Regions from separate parts of the Homo sapiens genome. Here region 1 is linked to region 2. The links are contacts of gene promoters, found by promoter capture Hi-C in human tissues and cell types (Jung and others, 2019). All regions are on one chromosome and are shown on one strand. Each heading gives the region's core, a stretch centred on a gene start or on the middle of the fragment in contact. The rest is flanking DNA. Distances are from core to core; before and after follow the strand shown.

Evidence for each region. Contacts are between HindIII fragments. The study calls those that stand out against the background at their distance.
Region 1: a fragment that was not itself captured here is called in contact with the fragment with the promoter of ZNF396 in region 2 in 1 of the 25 tissues and cell types used here (dorsolateral prefrontal cortex).

The regions. Positions count from the first base shown.
Region 1 is chr18:35,934,964-35,938,867 of GRCh38, reverse strand. No RefSeq gene overlaps it. Among named protein-coding and RNA genes, the nearest start is that of MIR3929, 2.8 kb to the right of the region's middle. The HindIII fragment of the contact is 7,355 bases long and covers 1-3,904 here.
Region 2 is chr18:35,374,439-35,378,740 of GRCh38, reverse strand. ZNF396 (zinc finger protein 396) reads left to right here and starts at 1,404. Exons shown (of 4, transcript NM_001322286.2): 1 at 1,404-1,463. RefSeq lists silencers at 1,619-1,688, 1,699-1,888. The HindIII fragment of the contact is 8,301 bases long and covers 1-4,302 here.

The DNA.
Region 1 (3,904 bases), core at 1,387-3,886, 560 kb before region 2:
AGGTAAGAGTGATGGATACAAAAAGGATAACACTAACCTTGGACTCTTCCCTTGCTCAAGAGGAGCCCCACATATGCAGCAGTTGAGTCATTTGCTGTCCTCAGGCAAACCCCTAGGTCTGTAATAACCATTAGATACATTTGCATAAATATAATGCAATCATGAAAGTCTCTTTCTCAGCCATGCATTGACTTATACTTTGCAAAGAGCTGGTAAAAATGTGACACCTTGGAGAGCCTGGAAAAGATTAGATTTTTCCCTAGGCACCAAAGGTTCTGTTTTTGTTTTTTAATTTTTTAGTGGATACCTATAGCATTAGAATATTCCCTAAGAATCAATGTGTCCCTTTTTTCCAGCTTAAAATCAAGGGCATGTGCACCACTTACAGGGAAACTGGCAAGCAACAGTAAACAAACCCATTTTATCAGCTTTATATAAATACCCGAGAGAAAGAAATACATTTATCTGAGAACACCACACATTATCCAAGAACTCCATGGTCCAGTGATTCTTGTCATGACTCACTTTGAAATAGACAAGTCATTGTTTAGAAAATATGTAGCTCAGTCAGACATATTTGTTCATTGAAATCTTTTGCCTTTGGCTGAGCCCTGAGCCAATATTTCCCTGAAAACCTCTTCCTCCTCTGCAACTTCTTTCTCCAGAGCAGGACAGTGGTCAATGACTTTAACAATCAAATATGAACCTGCTGAGAATTTGATGAGATCCTTTCTGATCTCTGATGTCCTATAATGCAGATGCCTTCTCTTGCTTTAAGTTTCCTTTCTTGCAGAGCCTGAGACAAGGATGTCTCAGCTAGTTTATTTGGGATGTGATTCCCAAAGAAGGGAGCATGGGGTAGAGAGGAAGCAGAGGTTACCTCTAAAGTTGGTGGAGCTCGATTCTGTCAGGCCTGGAGTTAGCACACAGAAGGCCTCTCAGAACCATCTGCTGTAGGCCAGGAGCCTAGAGCATTTCTCCATTTGCTTCCATTGCCAATTGGTTGAAGGCTACCTGGGGCAGTTCACTATCTTGCACTTCTGGGCTGCATAGAGTGGGATTATGTGAGACAGCACAAGCTGGGGTTGGGGATGCTGTCACAGCTCACATGAAACTGTCTCCCACAGTTGCAGCTCCAGTCAGAGCAGGGTAGATGGGATGGTCATAGTCACCAGAAGTGAGCAGCTGGCTTTGGAGCTGGACTACCTGGGATCAGGTCCCTAGCTCCATCACTGATTAGCCATGAGATTTTGGGCACATAAACATTACTTTTCTTGTCAGTGTAACAGGGGTAATAATAGTGCTTACCTTATGGAGTGTTGTGATCAGTAAAGATTAGCTATGGTTATCCAACAATGCTCTCCTTGTTTAAACTGTGTGCAAATCTCCCTTTTATCTTTTAAGGTGGGCAAGACTTCTCGGTGTTTCTGTATTTCTCTTCTGTGCCAGCACATGCTCAATGAAGTACCCCTTCCCTTTCCAGTTGCATACTTTAGGGTTTTGCAGCTTAGCTGCCCTTCTGAGGACTCCCCCACATGGTTTCCCTCCTCCTTTTTCATCTCTCTGCTTCTCCACCTCCCTACCCTGTTTGTCCTCAGGGTACAGAGGGGCTGCAGAGTTCAAGCCCTCAGTGTGCCCTCCTGCTGCTGCTGACAACAACCCTGTGGGGCTGGGATCACATTGTACTTCCTTGAAAAACTCACTGCACCCCGCCCTACTTTCTTGCAAGTGCTGATGTAAACATTTCTCTGCCAGAATCTGATAACATTCTAACACTGCCAGTACATAGATTAATGTCAACACTTTTGGTGATGCTCTAAATACAGATAAGCTAAAGTGGTTCAGCTAATGTCAGCATTCAAGGGCCTAAACTTCCCAAACTGACTACAGCTGCTCTAGAGCTTACTTACTACTGCTAGGAAAAAGCGTCATACCTCCCAGCAAACATAGATATTTTTCTTTTTCAGATAGTAAGATACAGGTTGAGTTGAGTATCCCTTATCTGAAATGCTTGAAACCAGAAGTGTTGCAGATTTCAATATTTTTCAGATTTTGGAATATTTGCATTACATTTAGTTGTTCAGCATCCCTAAGTCAAAAAATCTAAAATTGGAAATGCTCCAATGAGCGTCTCTTTTGAGCATCATGTTGGTACTTAAAAAGTTTTGGATTTTAGAGCATTTCAGATTTCAGCTTTCCAGAGTAGGGATACTCAACCTGTAATAATTTTAACCTTGGCTGACAGAATGCTCGGAGCTAAATTGTATGTTCCAACCTAAGAGTTATACTTCACTGATGTTTTCTGATATATCCATCTTTTCCCCTGGATAATTAACTCTTATTTTATTATCCTAATATATAGGTATTTTGTTGTAAGCCATGTGAAATCCTTATAGAAGTAAGCAGTGCGTGAGTAGAAAATGATGCGTGAATTATTAGAGGTGTCATTGCCCCATGAAAATATACAACCTATGTTGGTTATATAGTCGTTCCTGAACACAACATCTTTCAAGGCCAGGATTTCTAAAACTCATTACATGAGTAGTTGGTAGTTTCCATTCTCTTTTGTTTAATATTTCAGAGGATATGTAGTATTTTAGTGAGGAGGTTTTGGGTGCAGGGTACTAAAAACCTAATCCAATGCACAGGTTTGAACATTAGATGGGATTCACTAAGTTTTTGCGACACAAATGCTTGGTGGGCTCCAGGTGTGGTTTGATCAGGGTTCTGGTTCTGTCTTAACTTCTCTTAGTTTCTCTTGCCCTGTGTGGGCTTTGTCTTCAGGCTGGCTTTCCTCGGCAGGGCAGGCCTGCCAGTTGTCTCTGATGAAGACATACTCTCTCTGCAGGAGTTCATCCCTGAACAAAATACCACAGCAAGGGGAGTGGGGGATGCCCTGATTGGGCTAGACTGGTCAGGCCCGGGCTGATGCTGGGATGCACGGGGGAGTCAACCCCACACAAAACCCAGGTGCTTCACAGTGGGGGTGGGGTGGGGTGGCAGACAGGAAGGGAGGTTTATTCTCACTCCATTGACAAGGCTGATGAAAAGAACCACTAGGAGAAGAGCTACTATAAAACTCTGCACATATAATTATTAGGGATGAACAATGCCAGGTTGTGCTTGATGGGCCTTCTAAGTCCTTTTGGAGCCCTCTCACTTTCTGGTAAGCCTTTAGACAAAATCTGCTTTGCGATGCCTCTAGAATGGGGCAGGTGGAAAGCTTCCTGCAATTACATTCCTTTTATATAATGTTTCTCCACCAGAGGTTTGCAGTTTTATAGGATTCACCTGCCAATTGGCAACTGATTTGAGACACGTTAGTGCATCAGCAGAAGTGGGGGACATGCCGAGGGAGCAGCCTGGTGCTTGGCGGAATGTATCCTCTAATCACTTTTCGCCAGAAAGACCCTTAAAGCAATTATACGCTTCTGCAAAGAGAACTGGAAAAGGGTTCTGGATACTTTCTCCTCTTAATTAACCAAAGAATATGCCAATTCTTTTTAGAAAGTAAACTTTTTTCCCTAGTAACTATATTGTCCCATATCTGGTTATAATTTGTGTCTGAAGTAAGTAATTAATAGAGGACTGCCAGAATTTATGAGAATAAGAAACCCCATGAGTTCACGCGTGCACACACACACACTCAGAGGACATTGATATAGTTTGGATACTTGTGCCCTACAAATCTCACGTTGGAATGGCAACCCCAATGTTGGAGGTGGGCCTAGTGGGAGGTGTTTGCATCACAGGGGTGGATCCCTCTTGAGTGGCCTGGTGCCATCCTTGCAGTAATGAGGGAGTTCTTGCTCTACCAATTCGCCCAAGATCTGGTTATTTAAAAGAGCCTGAGACTTCCTTCTCTCTCTTGCTCCCTCTCTCACTACGTGATATACTGGCTCCC
Region 2 (4,302 bases), core at 155-2,654:
CTGACCTCTTGCCACATCCCACAGTTCCTCCTTCTCCTTGAAGCTTCTGACTGTCGTTCATATTCTCCTTAAATTGTCTCCTGTGACTTCACACCACTGCCAAGCCTTGCCCTCGTTTCAAATTCTCCCCTGACGTGAGTCATTTAACCTACCCTACCCACCAGCGCCAGAAACACATTCCCACCTGCACTTTTGGGCTGTTTGCTATTTGTGTTGGCAGCTGCATCAGCAAAAAGTCTTATCCTGTGAAAGCCCCTTGTTTGAAGCAAGAATTTCTTCAGATTTAGTTTTACTGTACTCTAATTGGGATCCAAACCTCTCCCTAGTCCCCTAGCGTCATAAACTGAGTAAACCAGCCTCTTCTTTCTTCACTTCAGATTCCAGTACTAACATACTTTTGGGGCGGCGTCATACCAAAAGGGATTTTTTGTTATTGTTCTTTATTAATTAGCAAGTGCTTTTCAAGCATCTCCGTCCTCTCCCTAATTCCTCAGTTACGAGTACAAGTACATTTTCCAGGAGTCCCTAGGGAAAGGGGCTAGAGAAGGAAGTCACGAGGTGGGGCTGTGGTGCATTTAGGCTTAAATTTATTTATTTATTTATTTTTTGAGACGCTCTCACTTTGCAGCCCAGGCTGGAGGGCAGTGGCGCAATCATGGCTAACTGCAGTCTCCACCTCCCCAGATTGAGGTGATCCTCACCCCTCAGCCTCCCAAGAAGCGGGGACTACAGGCATGCGTCTCTACACTCGGCTAATTTCTGTATGTTTTGTAGAGATGCGGTTTAGCCATGTTGGCCAGGCTGGTCTCGAACTCCTTGGCTCATGTGATCTGCCCATCTCGACCTCCCAAAGTGCTGGGATTACAGGCATGAGCCACCGCGCCCGGCCTCAAACTTATTTTTCAATTGAGATTAAGATTATCTGAGGAGAGATATGTGTATGTATTGTAACAAATTTTATGTGGGTCAGTTCTCACTTTTTCAAGGGCCATTGTGTTCTCCTGTGAAAGCATGGGGTTGCGGATGTCAAACTTGTCCCTTAAAACGTCAGTACTTGGGGTGTAACCACTTCGGGAGTGGGAATGGTATTAGGGATTGTACTCAGCGGTAGACAGCACAGCATTCGCCCCTCTCTGTAATCCTTGGCAAGTCACAGGACATTTGAGTTTATTTTCTGTAAAATGGGAATAACCTTACTGAGTTACCGGAGTAAATGAATAATGTAAGCAAAAGCACTTTGCGAAGCAACAATGCTAGTTTATTGAACGGAACACTGAGCAGAGCAGCTGGATTCCCACCGGTCGAGCCTCCCGGTTCTCTTTCCCTGTCCCAAGTGCGCGGCCACAGCGGCTCTTCTCCATGGCAACGTCCCCGCGTTCCGGGCCCCGCCCCGACCCGCCACCAGAACCGGAAGTTGTTGCGCAGCTGGCAGTTCCCCGGTTTCTCCCCGACGGCGTCGGGAGGTGAGACCCGAGGCCTCTTTAGGGCCCCCAGGCTGCGGTCAGAGGCGGTGGTCCCCGGGTGGTGGAAGGGGGACGCGGAGAGGCGGCCGCGGACTCGTCGCCACCCCTCCCTTCGCGCGCAAGTGCAGCACCCTTACACCGTCCCAGATCCCCAGGCCCCTCCCCTCCGCTGCCTGCCCCTGAGTCCGCGCACCCCTTCCCCTCGTCCTTCCCCGGCGGACCCCGGGCGCCTGCCCTGCCAGGTGAACCCGCGCCACCTGCCGCTTCGCCCCGGCGGTTCCCAGCCTGGGAGGCGCGCGGCGCGGCGCGGTGGGCGCGGGAGGTCGGGAGATGGTCGGAAGCCAGCCCTCCCAGAGCCGGCCCACCACAGCAGGGTAGAGCCGAGAGCGGCGTCCCCTGCAGAAAGACCCCTGCGTCCCAGGCTTTGATCGAAGCCTCCCCTCCAGGGACGTTCTTTCTGGTTGTCGTGCGGTGTCGGGGGTTCCTTACCCTCACCTCAGGTTTAGCACAGATTCTGCGCCTGGTGCTGAAGTGACAGGGCGGCCACTCTCTTCCAGAGGCTGCTTTAGCCCCGGGGTCCCTCATATATCCCTTAGGGTACCTGACGGCTCCAAACCGGTGGCCTCAACCCTTCCCACCTCTCAGGTCTTGTTCCCCAGACTCTTCTGGCCCCGCTTCATCTGGGAGCGCGGCTGCCTGCCGCCACTTCCTCCTCTGCGCTGAGACAACGCGCAGGGGTCACCACAAGGGCCCCTGCTGCCTATGGCCTCTAACCACACAGCACCATGGATAAATGTGGACGGCCTGGGTTCAGACCCCAGCTTTGCCCTTGGCCAGAGTACCTGGCTTTGCTGTGACTGCTTCCCCGTCTACAACATGGGGGTAAAAATAATCTAGGGCTTTTATGAGGATTTAACCTTTGTTTATTTTTACTAAGGTGTTCAAAACAGTGCTTGGCACATAGTAAATTCTGTTAATATGTGTGTCTGCTATTGTTTGTTTCATAGCACATCATTGTGTAAAGTTGTATCATTTATTTGGTAACAACTTTATGAACTCACAGGCTTTATACAGGGCCTAGAACAATACTTGGTGAAGTGAGAAAATAAGTCAAATGGCAGGATACATAACGATGGAAGACGGAGGCGCACGTAAGATTTTTAAAGTAGTCATCATTTGCTGAAGTTGTACAAACACTATCATATACCTCCTGCCCAATTTAAAAAATATGATTAGACCGGGTGCAGAGCCTCACGCCTGTACTCCCAGCATTTTGGGAGGCCGAGGCAGAGGGATCACCTGAGGTCAGGAGTTCGAGACCAGCCTGGCCAACATGGTGAAACCCCGTCTCTACTAAAATTATAAAAATTAGCCGGGCGTGGTGGTACACGTCTGCAATCCCAGCTACTTGGGAGGCTGAGGCAGGAGAATCGCTTGAACCCAGAAGGCAGAGGTTGCAGTGAGCCAAGATCCCGCCATTGTACTCCAGCCTGGGCAACAGGGCCAGACTCTGTCTCAAACAAAACAAAACAACAACAACAACAAAATGAGATTAGTTACTGGTGATACTTAACAGTAAAATGATACAAAGGAAAGTGCCGTCCCCCCCCAACTTTGTTGCTAACGAGCTAATAATACTTGAAGAAATCGTTGCCCTCACAAGTCACTATGATTGTGATGGTATTGTGAATTGATACAGTCTTTGTGCAATATTTTGATAATACATAGCAAGACAGAATTTGCTCTTCTCCTTTGATCCTCAACAAGCAGAGGCCTTGGGACATGCTTGAAAGAAATACTTTGAAAGGAGAAAAACAGTATATTCATAAAGATGTGCCTCCCAGCATTAATTATAATAGTGAAATTAGAAACAACCTAAGTATTTTAAAATAGTTAAGTAAGTAATATGGATATGGAAAAAAATAGAAATACATTCAGATGAAGGAACGTGATTGCCTTTTTTGTTGTTTTTTCTTTTTTTTTTTTTTTTGGTGGGGTAGAGATGGGGTCCCATTATGTTGCACAGGCTGGTCCCAAACTCCTGGGCTCAGGTGATCCTCCCATCTCCCACCTCGGCTTCCCAAAGTGCTGGGATTTCAGGCATAAGCACAGTGCCCAGCTGATTGGTTTATTTTTTTTTTAATGGTTCCTTTAATGTCGAAGTAATGTTTTAACAGTAAAAGCTGAAAAAAGTCACACAAAAGTGCTTCCCTCATGAGACTATTTCTTTGAGCTCTTTGCAGCACACTAAATACCGATTGGCTCTTTGAACTGGCTCCAGAGTTAGAGCATTTCTCAGGCTTCCCTTATTTCCATTATCTGGGAGCTTCTATGCAATCCTGGCTGATCTCTTATTGTAATATTCAGTAGCCTTGTGGGCATGGTTTTCAGAATGAATTGTGAATCACTTATGCATATGAATTAATGAGTCTTAGCTGTTTGGTTCTCTTAAAGAAGTATTCTTCAAAAGCATGGTTTCTGGGCCTGGCGTGGTGGCTCAAGCCTGTAATCCCAGCACCTCAGGAGGCCAAGGCGGGTGGATCACCTGAGGTCAGGAGTTCGAGACTAGCCTGGCCAACGTGGTGAAACCCTGTCTCTACTGAAAATACAAAAATTAGCCAGGCGTGGTGGCGGGTACCTGTAGTCCCAGCTACTTAGGACGCTGAAGCATGAGAATCACTTGAACCCAGGAGGCAGAGGTTGCAGTGAGCCGAGATCACACCATTGCACTCCAGCCTGGGCAACAGAGCAAGACTCCATCTCAAAAATAAATAAATAAATAAAAGCATGGTTTCTGTTAAGACTAAGGTCAGTAGTTCCTATACAGTCTTATGTTTCT